Regions from separate parts of the Homo sapiens genome. Here region 2 is linked to region 1. Evidence: promoter capture Hi-C in 16 types of primary human blood cells and fetal thymus (Javierre and others, 2016). All regions are on one chromosome and are shown on one strand. Each heading gives the region's core, a stretch centred on a gene start or on the middle of the fragment in contact. The rest is flanking DNA. Distances are from core to core; before and after follow the strand shown. Region 1 holds the start of FAM169A (family with sequence similarity 169 member A). Region 2 overlaps HMGCR (3-hydroxy-3-methylglutaryl-CoA reductase).

What was found. The method cuts DNA at HindIII sites, captures the fragments that hold promoters and counts their contacts. A CHiCAGO score of 5 or more calls a contact.
Region 2: a contact is called between a fragment that was not itself captured here and the fragment with the promoter of FAM169A in region 1, in 1 of 17 cell types (naive CD8 T cells). The highest score is 6.2, in naive CD8 T cells.

Annotation. Positions count from the first base shown.
Region 1 is chr5:74,863,617-74,871,030 of GRCh38, forward strand. FAM169A (family with sequence similarity 169 member A) reads right to left here and starts at 2,771. Exons shown (of 13, transcript NM_001376049.1): 1 at 2,549-2,771. FAM169A-AS1 (FAM169A antisense RNA 1) reads left to right here and starts at 2,277. Exons shown (of 1, transcript NR_134288.1): 1 at 2,277-3,659. RefSeq lists silencers at 2,218-2,387, 2,458-2,707. The HindIII fragment of the contact is 5,081 bases long and covers 1-3,896 here.
Region 2 is chr5:75,344,539-75,351,389 of GRCh38, forward strand. HMGCR (3-hydroxy-3-methylglutaryl-CoA reductase) reads left to right here. Exons shown (of 20, transcript NM_000859.3): 5 at 1,036-1,120; 6 at 2,666-2,771; 7 at 5,504-5,610; 8 at 5,720-5,836; 9 at 6,251-6,411; 10 at 6,530-6,777. Among named protein-coding and RNA genes, the nearest start is that of HMGCR, 11 kb to the left of the region's middle. The HindIII fragment of the contact is 4,089 bases long and covers 2,028-6,116 here.

The sequences.
Region 1 (7,414 bases), core at 1,521-4,020:
AGTATGCTTAAGGCTTAAAACGGAGTATTTAGGTAGGAGCTAATAGAGAAAAATATTCGATTTTTCTTTTCAATTTCTCAACCATTGGTAAATAATGCTCAAAATCTCAAGCAACTTCAAAGACAAAAGCACACCAAGATCACTTCCAAACTGGAGTCAATACAATCTTACCAATTCAGTGAACTTCTCTGACTTGTATAATAACAGAATCAATGTAAAAGTTTAAGAGTTGTGTTTGACTCAGCACTGTTATTTGCTAGAAAAAAAAAAATCTCATTCCCCATAGGCCTAGGATAGGTCCAGACAGGTCACCTGCAATCTCTAGCAGGCAATCTTTGCTTACTTAAATTCCCTAAACCAAGACTCATCTCTAAATGTCCAAGGTTCTTCTCGCCTCCATAATTCTCCCTATAGAATAAACATATCTATAATGGGAAGCACGATATTTTTGCCAGGGATGGTACACAATATGTAATCACTTGTTTGAAGACAAAATTAGTGGGAGAGTCTTCAACAAAACAGAAAATAAATAGTTTAATTTAATAAGGAGGATGGCATGGAAACTTTACCTCAAAAGCACTTAATTATTTTGTTTTCTCCAAATCAAAATCCTTTGTTGGATATATATTCCATCTTGGTGTTTCACTGTTGTTGCCCAGGCTGGAGTGCAAGGGCACGATCTCGGCTCACCGCAACCTCTGCCTCCTGGGTTCAAGTGATTCTTGTGCCTCAGCCTCCCGAGTAGCTGGGATTACAGGCATGTGCCACCACACCCGGCTAATTTTGTATTTTTAGTAGAGACGGGGTTTCACCATGTTGGCCAGGCTGGTCTTGAACTCCTGACCTCGTGATCCACCCGCTCTGGCCTCCCAAAGTGTTGGGAAAACAGGTGTGAGCCACCGCACCCGGCCTATATCCCATCTTTATTAAATAAATACCACTTGTAATGACATGAATACTATCTCAAAGGTCAGACTAATTTGAAGCCTTTTAGAACCTAAAATCCACAGGTAAAACACCTTAATTTATGGTCACTCATGTGGAAGGTCAATGTTGCTACTCACATAAGCTATTTCTAAGTTCCCCAAACAGATCCCCATCATTAACTTAGAGAAAAGTCCACTATAATAGCTACAAGATTTCTGTGAAAGACGATCATGTTTTATCTTTGTTTGCGCTTCAAGTGTTAGGATAAACGGACTTTTCCCAGGTGCCTCTCACCATCTCATTCCTTGCCTTTCCTCCAAAACAAGCAAAACTAAAACACTAAAAATTTTAGTCTGGTCCATACTAGTCAATAAAAATCTTTCCTCTTGTAAACACTTTATAGCACGATAAGGGACGTAGTTTGCAAAGATCATCTGTACATCCTGTGTAAAAAATAAAAACGCATGGCACACCAAACCCAGATCCACTTCGGTGAATTCCCTCCAGGGCCCAAATGTGTGCATTATGCAACAGCCAGCACTCCCGATTGTAATCCCTGTCTGTGATGCAATGACAAAATATAAATGGCTTGGGTATAATCTGCTCAGTTCGTAAGTAGTAATTCGCAAGAAGCCAACGAATTAAAAGAATTCCCAAATTCTCAGGAACCTTGAAAATGACAAATTGTGTCACAGTTCTGTGAGAATCACAATGAAAACTTTCCCTTCTGGAAATTTTTTAGAAATATGTCCCTCCGGTCCCAATCCCCCAAAAACCCGTACACACGTTTTAATTTACGTTAGGAACGGCTCTCCCAGCGGGGGAAGGTGACCTGCATCAGGTGGTTATCTTCGAATCCACCCGATACGATACCCACGCCGCTTCCCAGACGCTGAAAAGCCAGTGAGATGCTTCATCCTTTCTCCCCAAGGACAGTCATGGGAGTCAGTGTAATCCAGACCCCCGAGCCATAAACCACCCAGGGTTCAAGGCTTCACCTCCTGAGGCACAGGCCTCTTGAAAAATGGCATAATGGAGAGCTGAGAACACAATTAGGACAAAACTGCAACGACCAGCATTCCAGAGGAGGGAGAATCATACAATATCTGTTCCAAAAGTAGTTACAGGTAAAGGAAGGCGGTCAGAGCATCTCTGGAGGCCACCTGGTCGGGTGAACCGAGTCTAAACGCTGAAGTTCCACACCTCCCCGAGTCCGCGTCTCCCCAAGCCAAAGCAATCAGCTCGCACGCCAAGCATCCAGGTGGGGAGAGGGCGAGGGGAGGGGGCGGCAAGCCGCAGCTGCGAACCGGCCCGCGGCGGAGGCGAGCGAAGACGGGCATTCCCTCACACAAAATGGTGGCGCCGAGGCGGAGGCCGGCGCACCTGGGGGCGCCACACGCCCTACGGGATCCCCGCAGACCGCCGCCAGCTGGACGCGAGCCCCGGGTCCAGGCGGCCCGCACTGGTCTGCGCCAGGCCCAGCCCGCAGGGGCCGCCCACAGCCGGTGGCCCGCGTCGCCGCTCGGTGTCCGCGGGTCTGGTGCTGGCGGGGGCGCGGGGCCCGGCGCGGCCGTCTCGGCCTCACCCAGCGGTCCGCGCCGGGGAGAGGGAGCGCACTCACCTCAGACGCGCCCCGGGAGCCGCTGGAAGAGCCCGGGAAAGGAGGCGGAGCCGCGCGAATGAATGGAGCCGGCGGCTGCTCGCTGGCGACCTCCGGCCGGTCCCAGGCCGCACAGCTCGCGGCTGCCAGGGCGAGTGCGGCTGCCTCCCGCTCGCCCCGGACGCCCGGCTCCTCGTCGCGGGTCGGCCGCGGCCCACCGTGCCCTCCGACGACGTGACGCACTAGCGCCGCAGCGCCTCCAGCCTTCGCTTCCGCTCCGCGCCCGCGCCCACCGCGAATCCCCCCGCCCGCCAGCGCGGAGCGGCCCCTCCTCGGAGCCTGGGACGCCGCCCTGCCTCCCTCCAGCCCCGGCTTTCAGGCGCCGGCCCGGCAGGTGCGGGCTTGGCCAGCCCGGGGGCGTCACGCGGCCCCCGCCTCGCCACCCGCGCCCCCTCTCTCCGCCCCGGCCGCCGTCACCCGGCAGCGCGACGCCCAGCTCAGGGCAATGGCCTGGTATTAAAGAGTGACCTTGGCTTAGATATAAAAATAGATGCGGTTAAGCCGCGGGGGCTGCAACGCTGATTTTGCGTATTCCTTTAATGCCGACCTTCGCAGGATTCTGTTCGCATAGCCCGGTGGAGTTCTCCAGCCCCGCGTAGGCCCTCCTGAAATTTACCCAGAGTGGGCGCGGCCATCCCGGCCTCGGGACAGGGGTGCAGAGGGCACGGGCGAGGACCGCCGGCCTCCGCCCCACCACTTTCATCCTAAACCTACTGCCACTTAGGTGCATGCAAGTTAGAATCGTGGGCTGCTTTCACAGTCTACAGAAGTCCTAGAGCCCGGACTTTCATCTGGAGATGTCAGGGAAATACCACATTCCTGCGCTGACCTTTTCTCTTTCACCGTTTAACCGGTACAGAATAACCCTGACCCAGAAAGACAACAGGGTTCCATCCGGCTTTCCTCCCGTGCCTCTCCCAGCTCTATTCTACCGTCTTATGGCCTCTGGCGCCTTTGCTAATTACACACTCCTACTGAAAATTAGCCCTCCAGCATTTAAAACATGATAAATTGTCTTTAAGGTAATGCGTATTGTAGTCTAAATATATTTAATAACTGTATTGAGAAACAATATTGTATCTAAGTATTAATGTCAAGACTTTCTTTTACTCATCATCCAAGAACCGTAGTATTATGTTCAGCTCATCCAGAAAAGTTGAAAATTGCTTCTTTCATTCCTGGGAAATATTTAGCAATCACAATACCAACTTTCACGAATTTACTAATGATTAGCAAAATTAGCAAGATCAAAAAATACTTCAAAGAATGCTTGTTGATATAGATATATTTGACCCTGATTTTTAAAAAAAGCTTTTCTGCCATATAAGAATCTATTGTTTCATTTGTATAATATTTAATTAGCCAAAATCTTTACTATTACACATCATTTACCATTTTAATGAAACTTAATGAATTAGATTTAATAGAGCAGGAATTTTGGGTAGTTGGGTTCTACCCATAGCCAGTGATGAATGAAATTATATGACTTGTATTTACATTTCTAGAGCTATGTGTAAGTAGGAGTCCCCAGGGTAATCCCAAACAATTGCCATTTGGGGAAGCTTTGGCTACCAGACTATGCCCTACAGATGTTGAAGCCTCAGGCCTTAGTGTAAAGCTAACCAATACAACTTGTTGATAATATTTGAAATGCCTGGGTGTGATTGACTCTTAGCTATTGTTTTAGAAGTATGCGGGTATTTGTGCCTGGGTCAGGGAGGCCTGGCTCCCAGATGTCTGGCTATTCTGGTAGGAGACAGAACTACATTCACCCAGACCTATAAAAGAAAAGGTCCAATTTTTTTTTTTTTTTTTTTTTTTTTTTTTGAGACAGGGTTTCACTCCCACAGCCTAGGCAGGCTGGAATGCAATGGCGCGATCTCGACTCACTGCAACCTCTGCCTCCCAAGCTCAAGCGATTCTCCGGCGTCAGCCTCCGGAAGAGCTGGGACAGAGGTGCACACCAACGCACCTCGCTAATTTTTGTAGAGACGGAGTTTCGCCATGCTGCCCAGGCTGGTCCTGAACTTCTGAGCTCAAGCGATCCGCCCGCCTCGGCCTCCCAAAGTGCTGGGATTACAGGCGTGAGCCACTGCGCCAGGCCTGATTCTCTTTTCCCTACTTGCAAATGACACTATTTTTGAGAGTTTTTGGTTTTTTCTTTTTAAATCACCATTGACTTCCCTCTTTGGCTGAGATAAATTTTGCTTATCTTAGTGGGCAAAGAACAACAACTAAAAACATGAGCCTTTGTCAGATTAGTATATGCTGAAAATTGTTACCACAATATTTTGAAATATGCTTTGAGGCTTTTTTCTGAACCGTTTTTAGAGTAAAAGGATTATTGCTTTGGTTTTTGTTTTTGCAATGCTTGCTTTAATTATTACTTTGTTATTAGCAAAGGAAACATGTTAAGAGTTCGTTCTGATTGTATTTTTCCTCTATGTTTAAAGAGGAGTGGAACCATCTTAAGTAAAAGAAGCTTGCCACAACCCTGGATTTTGGAGGTTACTAATACACATGACCCAGAAAAGAGCTCTTTAGTTGCACTGGGGAAGAGGAATTCTTAATAGCTAAAATCATAACTGATGTTTTTGACAGCTAACAAATTGCCAGGCACTCTACAGACTTCTTTATGGAAATTAATTCACTTAATCCTCTTACCATCCTTGCAGGTATACACTGTTACCCCCAGTTTACCTAAGAGGAGTCTTGAGGCACACAGAGAAACTAAGCAATTTGCCCATGGTCACACAGATAGTAATCCTAGCATGTTGGCTCAAGAGCACACTCCCTTAACCAGAATTCCATACTGCCTTAAATGTGCACAAAATCCTATACCATATGGATAGATTTTGCTTTTGAAGCCCTAAAACATACTAAATGTCCTATACTTTCAAGTTTAAATAATTTCTTAGATCTAGTATTTTCCCAGACAGGAAGGAAGAATTAAAACTAGTTACAAGTTTACAAGTTAGAAAGAAAACTTGTAAAAACTTCCTCTGGTATATACTAAGCAAAATTTTATAATCTGTTAGTTTTTGAAAAACACATTTTTCATTTTTACATCATTTAAGTGTAATTGCTCTCCAAGTCCCGTCCCCCAGTTCCAGGGCATAATTACAAGTTTTCATTCTGTTTATTTAGCGCGTGGAAAAGACACATTTCCTTAGAAAGATTTATCATCATCTTTGACACTCCAATAAGACATAAATATGTTGGGAACAGGCCCCCCCAAAATCTCGCCATCAACTGGCCCCAAAACTGGCCATAAACAAAATCTTTGCACCACTGTGACATGTTCGTGATGGCCGTGACGCCCACGCTGGAAGGTTGTGGGTTTACCAGAATGAGGGCAAGGAACACCTGGCCCACCCAGGGCGGAAAACCGCTTAAAGGCGTTCTTAAACCACAAACGATAGCATGAGCGACCTGTGCCTGGACATGCCCCTGCTACAGATAACTAGCCAGAGCCCATCCCTTTATTTCAGCCCATCCCTTGTTTCCTGTAAGGAATACTTTTAGTTAATCTATAATCTATAGAAACAATGCTTATCACTGGCTTGCTGTCAATAAATATGTGGGTAAATCTCTGTTTGAGGCTCTCAGCTCTGAAGGCTGTAAGACCCCTGATTTACCACTCCACACCTCTGTATTTCTGTGTGTGTCTTTAATTCCTCTAGCGCCCCTGGGCCAGGGTCTCCCCAGCTGAGCTGGTCTCGGCATAAATGGGTAGATTTAGAATCCATCATATGTTTTAAATACATAAAATCACAGGGATTTTTTTTTTTTTGAGACTGAGTCTCACTGTGACGCCCAGGCTAGAGTGCAGTGGTGTGATCTCTGCTCACTGCAATCTCCGCCTCTTAGGTTCAAGCAATTCTCCTGCCTCAGCCTCCTGAGTAGCTGGGATTGCAGGCACGCACCACTATGCCCGGTTAATTTTTTGTATTTTTAGTAGAGATGGTGTTTCACCATGTTGGTCAGGCTGGTCTCGAACTCCTGACCTTGTGATCCACCCGCCTTGGCCTCCCAAAGTGCTGGGATTACAAGCGTGAGCCACAGGAGAACATTTTAATAACTGAGGTAGCCCAGGGATTTCTAGATTGAAACTATTAGCCAGTCAGCTAACTAGTTAGCTAATAATATCAGCCATGGCAATGTAGAAAGACAATCTTACCTGCAGGCACTAAAAGACGAAAAAGGACAGCTATCCTAGAATGCTTGATTTCTTCCTTTGGTATGTAAGAAAACATGTCACAGGAATGCTTTCAGAATTAAAAGCAGTGTTTTGACTGAGTTTTATTGGTCAAACACTACTATAACTGCAGATTTCAAATTCCTGAGTGATACTGTGCCCTGGGGGGAGAAAAGAACCTGAAGAAAAGAGAAATAAGTTTGAGAAGCCCAGTTGCATTTGTCTTGCTGCTTGATTTGCTTTAATATGTGGTAGAAGGACAGAGAATTTGGTAAGTTTAGTTTAGGTTTAAAAGAAATAAAATGTACAGTTTTTCATATTGTTAATGAAAAATCACATACATATTTACATCCATGGTAGGTACTGCAAGTTGCTTAATTAATATCCATTCTCTTCTTTCTTTAGGACAAACCCAATTTTGTTCATGGTGGCAATGTGCCCCACTAAAACTGTTTTCCTCCCTCAGACTCCTCTAGTAGCTGGGATAGCCATATGGTCATTTTGGCCAACGAGTTGTAAGCAGAAGATTATTAGATGTGTCTTCCAAGAAAGCTTTTATTTTCTGATAAAAGAGGGTGGACTCAATCGGCATATACCTTTATCTTTTGTCAAACATTTGTACTTCTTCC
Region 2 (6,851 bases), core at 2,822-5,321, 480 kb after region 1:
TATCATATATATTGTTTTATAATTTCTTTATGCTTAATAATAGTTTATCAACATCTTTCCATGTCCCTTTTTTTTTTTTTTGAGATGGAGTTTCGCTCTTGTCACCCAGGCTGGAGTGTAATGGCACGATCCTGGCTCACTGCAACCTCCACTTCCCGGGTTCAAGCAGTTCTCCTGCCTCAGCCTCCTGAGTAGCTGGGATTACAGGCACCTGCCACCATGCCCATTTAATTTGTGTATTTTTGGTAGAGACTGTGTTTCGCCATGTTGGTCAGGCTGGTGTCAAACTCCTGACCTCAAGTGATCCGCCTGCCTTGGCCTCCCAAAGTGCTGGGATTATAGGCGTGAGCCACTGTGCCCGGCCTCCATGTCCTTAATGTTAAACTAAATTGTTTGTAATGGCTATATGTATTCTCTTCTGTCTAAACGTCTTGTAGTTTATTAATCATCTAATGTTGGACTGTTAGGTTATGTAATTTTTTTTATTAATAACAACACTGTGATGAATGTCTTTGTAACGAAATTTTTGTTCATATTTGTAATCATTTTCTTAAGATACATTCCTAGAAGTGAGACAGTGGTTTTGCTTTTTTTAGAGCTTTGCTTTTTTTTTTTTAAGAGCTTTTTAGTGCTATTATTGCCAATTTAGTTTACAGAAAGTTTGTTTAGTTTATCCTTCCACAGGTAGTGATCAATGAAAATTTTTATATATTCCACTTTTTTTCCCTAATGGTAATCCAAGGAGATATTTTTTACTAAGGATGATACTTTGATACAAAATTATCAAAAGGTGTTTAAATGTAAATATACTTACATTTTAACATTAAAAATATTTTTAACAAATATTTTGAGCAACTACTATGTTTAGCTTTGAGGATGCCAAAGAAATATAGGGTATACTTTTTTGTCTGCAGAAAGGTACACATACTACAGGATCATACAGTATGGAGGGGGAAAGGTTTTGTTCTAAAAAGAATTTTTTTAAAATCATACTTTTTCCCGTTAAATTTATCTGATCATTTTGTTCTTTTCCAGTGAAGCTTTGCCCTTTTTCCTACTTTTGATTGACCTTTCCAGAGCAAGCACATTAGCAAAGTTTGCCCTCAGTTCCAACTCACAGGTAAGTATTATTTATAAGATAGGAATGTGAATAGTATTCCTTTTTTCAGTTTACATTAATAGGAAGGATTAATAGCGTTTCTTCATAGCACAAGATTTAAGAATTGCCCAAAGTTTTAAGTTTAATTCTCAAGTCCCAAGACTGGTCTCCATAAGTGCCCCAGGAACAGTCCCCTGTATCTAACAACTCAATTATGATTCTGTAGCTACTGGAATTTGGAATTGCCCCCATTTTTCTTTTTGAAAGTTTTCAGAACTTATGGTAATAATAATTTTTGGGTAAATAAGAGTATTTTCCTAGTGAAACACATCAGAGAGCAGAACAAGATCTAATGGAAGAGAAACCCAGGGTAGATTGATTGATTGATTGATTTGAGATGTAGTCTCACTCTGTCACCCAGGCTGGAGTGCAGTGGCGAGATCTTGGCTCACCACAACCTTCGCCTCCTGGTTTCGAGGGATTCTTCTGCCTCAGCCACCTGAGTAGCTGGGATTACACATGTGCACCACCATCCCCGGCTAATTTTTGTGTTTTCAGTAGAGACGGAGTTTTGCCATGTTGGCCAGACTGGTCTTTAATTTCTGACCTCAAGTGATCCACCCGCCTCAGCCTCCCAAAGTGGTGGGATTATAGGTGTGAGCCACTGCACCTGGCCAGATTTATTTTTAAACCCCTTAAATTAACACTGGCATTATTTCCTATTTTAAGTTTCATCTTAATGTTCATTAGTCACTTTGAAGAACCTAACCATTTTAACAATATTATATCAGAGTATCTTGAGTATAAAATAGCACACAATTCTGCCCTGATTATTTGTTGATGAAAGTGTGTGATCATTTGAACATATTAACAAGGAAATAAGTTTGGTTTTATTAATACTAATATGATCTCATAAAATTTGCAACTAAGCTTCTGTCATGGTAGGTAAAAATATAGAATGTTGTAGGATTTAATTATGTGTGATTTAAATGACAGAGTTAATGCACTACCTCAAAGGAATATTCCTAACAAATATCTTATTCAGTGGAAAGGGAATCAGGGCACTATATGTTCTTTTTTAAAAATTTGGCTGGGCGCAGTGGCTCACACCTGTAATTCCAGCACTTCGGGAGGCCGAGGTGGGCAGATCACCTGAGGTCAGGAGCTCCAGACCAGCCTGGCCAACCTGGTGAAACCCAGTCTCTACTAAAAATACAAAAATTAGCTGGGCATGGTGGCGGGTGCCTGTAATCCCAGCTACTCGGGAGGCTGAGGCAGGAGAATTGCTTGAACCCAGGAGGCAGAGGTTGCAGTGAACCAAGATCACACCATTGCACATTGCACTCCAGCCTGGGAAACAAAGTGAGACTACATCTCAAAAAAAAATTTTTTAAAATCCTTTATATTACAATCATACTTTGTATCTTGAATACCTGTTAGTTTTATCATATTGTATATTTTACTCTTTGAATAGTAATTTGATATTAATATAAGCCATAGGATGCTCTAACATTTAAAAAAGTTGTTCTGTCCCTTGCCTTCATTGATATGTTTGATCTGTTTTAGGATGAAGTAAGGGAAAATATTGCTCGTGGAATGGCAATTTTAGGTCCTACGTTTACCCTCGATGCTCTTGTTGAATGTCTTGTGATTGGAGTTGGTACCATGTCAGGTTTGTAAGCAATTTTTGCCATATTTTAAAATAGGTATGTCGCTAAAGAGGAAAAAGAACATCTTGGATTTGTATTATTTATTGTTAAATTCTGACTTTTAAATTACTCTTAAAATTTTTTATTATATTAGTGTGTGGGTATATCTGGCCTGTTTGCTTTGGTGGAAACTTAGCAGCAGGTTACTGATTTATTTTTCACTCCTGCCATCCTCTCTTTGTGTTCCACTTTGTGATATTTTTATTCATTTGATTTCTTTTGTTTGTTTTTTTAACCAACATTGCATTCCAAGGTTGGTCTGGAAAACACTTTCCAGCCCCTGCTGTTACTTAGACTCAATTGGTGACTTGGTTCTTTGTGTTTTAATTATCATGTAGGGAGAAAAGAGTCAGGAATTGGACAGATCTGAGTAAGATTCACCTAATAAGGTGATTGGAAATATTTAATCCGATAGTAAGCAGTACATCTCAGCAAGTACCCAGCATTAGCTTCAACACATGTTTCTTCATTCTTAATTGGATAGTAGAGAATTAGATATTAATATCAAACATAGGACTTCATTATGTAGAATAAAAATTACAGACTGGCATGGAAATTTGCCAGAAGGAATATATTACGCTGTGTGAAGGTCTCCTAATCATTAGGATTATATTTTATGGCTTTCTTATAAAGACCATACTTGGTTAACTACTGTGTATTTCCTGGTACCTTAGAGCCCTCAATGAGATGCCTCATTCTTTCAGAAGTAAATTATCTAACTTTTAAGGGGGTAAATTATTGTCATTAGTTTAGGCCTCTTCAGTAGATAGTATATTAAAAATGTAATATTGCTTCTAACTTTCTGAGAGCAAATTATTATTTATTTATTTTATTCAACAAAGATTTTATTTAGCAAATAAAATATTTTTTAATTTTAAAAATTTACTTACTTTAAAATTTACTTTTGGGAGTACAATTTTATGAGTTTTGACAATGACATAGTCTTGTAACCACCACTACACTCAAGAAAAAATGTTGATCAGGTGAAAATGTACTTGTTTGATTTTATTCAAGCAAAAGAATATATGAGAAGGGGATTCGCCAGGAAGTAATAGTTGGGCCATGAAACCATGGGATTATTCATTGAAATAATAATGATGTGGAAAGCAGCTGGGCGATGAGTTTTGTCATGATATGGTCAGAGAAGTAGACAAAGGAAGTGATTAGATTTGTGGTTGGAGAAGACAGTGAGACATTTACAGCTATACAGAAATGGTATAATTAGAGATTTGGGTTACGGTAAAAAAGGACAGATTTAACACATATTAACTTGGAAGTAACCCTTTGAAAAAGCCAGTACAAAAAGAAGAAAGTCTTAGCTTCTTGGATGTCTGTGGATTGGTGCTGTTTCTTTGTGTGTAGAGAGACTTATCTGGGGACACAGTAAGGAAGAATGCCTGGAGAGCATATGGCAACAACATGAGTGAATATTGTGCAGAGAGAAATAGTAGATAGTCAAGTCATGAAAGCATTGGTCAAGTATGGTTTTAATGGCCTCAAGTTTGAAAAGATTATATTCAGCTACTATTTAAAATGTAGTTTGATTTATAATGCTTTTGTTATTGTGATTTTGTAGTCTCTTGAATTTCCACATTTGAGGGTAATCGTGGAATTAAAAAAATACAATATATGCTTGTTCTAGTCAGTCAAATGATATCTTAAAATTTAGGTAATAAAATACAACTTTGAGTTTTTGTGAGCAGTTTTTATAGGACAATTTAAATTTATGTTTCAAAGCATTGGGAATTAAAAAAATACAATATATGCTTGTTCTAGTCAGTCAAATTATATCTTAAAATGTAGGTAATAAAATAAAACTTTGAGTTTTTGTGAGCAGTTTTTATAGGACAATTCAAATTTGTGTTTCAAAGCATTGTTATGTTTGAGCGACATCAGAAATATGTTTTATATTATACTCAAGTTTATTTGTAAAGTGAGGGAGAAGGATTTGGTGGTCATCTAAGGTCTCTTCTAGCCTCTATAATTCTGTTTTCTATTTGAGATCACCAAATGATACCTTAAACAGTTGTAGTACAATATGTTTGTTAATTTTTAGTCTTAAGTTGGCATTTTGTATTATATCATTTTCCAAACAGATCAATGAAATAACCAAAATTATAAGAACTTCAGTAGGCATCATAGAGGTTATATTGAAATTAGAGTTTGTTGGTACACAAAAAATATTATTTTGACCTTATATCAGGACTGGCATAACTGGCAGGATATTCTACTTATATAAAAAATCCTTGGTTAATTGGCAAATTGCTTTTCTCCTAACAAGTGGGATTAGATCAATAGTGTCACTGGGGTTTTGCTCTGTTAGAGTAGCCTGTCCTCTCCTTATTTAATAATAAGGCACTACTGCTTGACAAAAAGGAATTGGAAACACATATGTTTTATCAATTGTGTATTAAACACTACCATTCTGCCTGGCATTGTGATATGGGGACATGAGAGAAGGCAAGAGCTTTGCTCTTGAGGGACTTAGAGTTCTGTTGTTATTCCTGCTGTTTCCTAAGGCTTGGCATCACCTCTAAGTTGCTAATTCTATTTCCAGTAAGTGGCAAGGAGCTTAATGTACTAATATTTTCATGTTTTGTCCACCTGCAGGAAGACAAATATATCCTTGTGATATATGCAGCATAAAAAATAACGTAGACTTTACTAGTTGTATCTTTAATTTTTCTCTAACCAGGGGTACGTCAGCTTGAAATTATGTGCTGCTTTGGCTGCATGTCAGTTCTTGCCAACTACTTCGTGTTCATGACTTTCTTCCCAGCTTGTGTGTCCTTGGTATTAGAGGTAAGACCAATTCTTACATATGGCACTAGTAGAAGAGTAAGATTTCTGCTTACACAGTTTACCTAAACAGAATCAATACCTTCTAATGTCACACTGACTTAATTTGTAGCTTTCTCGGGAAAGCCGCGAGGGTCGTCCAATTTGGCAGCTCAGCCATTTTGCCCGAGTTTTAGAAGAAGAAGAAAATAAGCCGAATCCTGTAACTCAGAGGGTCAAGATGATTATGGTAATGACATGGTTTTCTTCTTCTTTTAGTATCCTCAGTTCCAATCTCATTATTTTTAAGATTTCTTTTTTTCTACAATTTTGGCCCATTCAATGATATTGCACCCCCTTCTTCCTTTTTTTCTTAATGTGTTCATTTCTTTGAGGCTCCTGGTCTTTATTAGCCCCTCTCTCCTAAACAGACTTTTTAAGTTCCCCCACCTTATCTCTCGTTGAAAGCCTGTTCTTTGGGGTGTTTTCAGTAGTTCAGTGGGGTCACTACTTTAGTTAGTTGCATAGCAAGCTTGGGGCTTTTTTTTTTTCATGGTAAGGGGAAGCTATGAGAGATAATGTCTGGCTGTCCAGTTGCTAGGGATAAGAAATTTAAGTTCTATTGATATGCAGAGGATACATTACTTTAAAAATTTTATTTCAGTCTCTAGGCTTGGTTCTTGTTCATGCTCACAGTCGCTGGATAGCTGATCCTTCTCCTCAAAACAGTACAGCAGATACTTCTAAGGTTTCATTAGGACTGGATGAAAATGTGTCCAAGAGAATTGAACCAAGTGTTTCCCTCTGGCAGTTTTATCTCTCTAAGTAAGTTAATTGAAATCTACTTTGTGATATATTAATCATAACACTCTATGCTAATGTAAGTTTAGATTGTGTCCTTTACATTTCTGAATAAGATTTTAATTTGCTTTCTTTTATTTAGAATGATCAGCATGGATATTGAACAAGTTATTACCCTAAGTTTAGCTCTCCTTCTGGCTGTCAAGTACATCTTCTTTGAACAAACAGAGACAGAATCTACACTCTCATTAAAAAACCCTATCACATCTCCTGTAGTGACACAAAAGAAAGTCCCAGACAATTGTTGTAGACGTGAACCTATGCTGGTCAGAAATAACCAGAAATGTGATTCAGTAGAGGAAGAGACAGGGATAAACCGAGAAAGAAAAGGTAACTTGTTATTCTCTTCGCTTTCAATCCTTCATTGCTTTGTCAAAAAGTAGTCTGTTTTCAAAATTATGTGC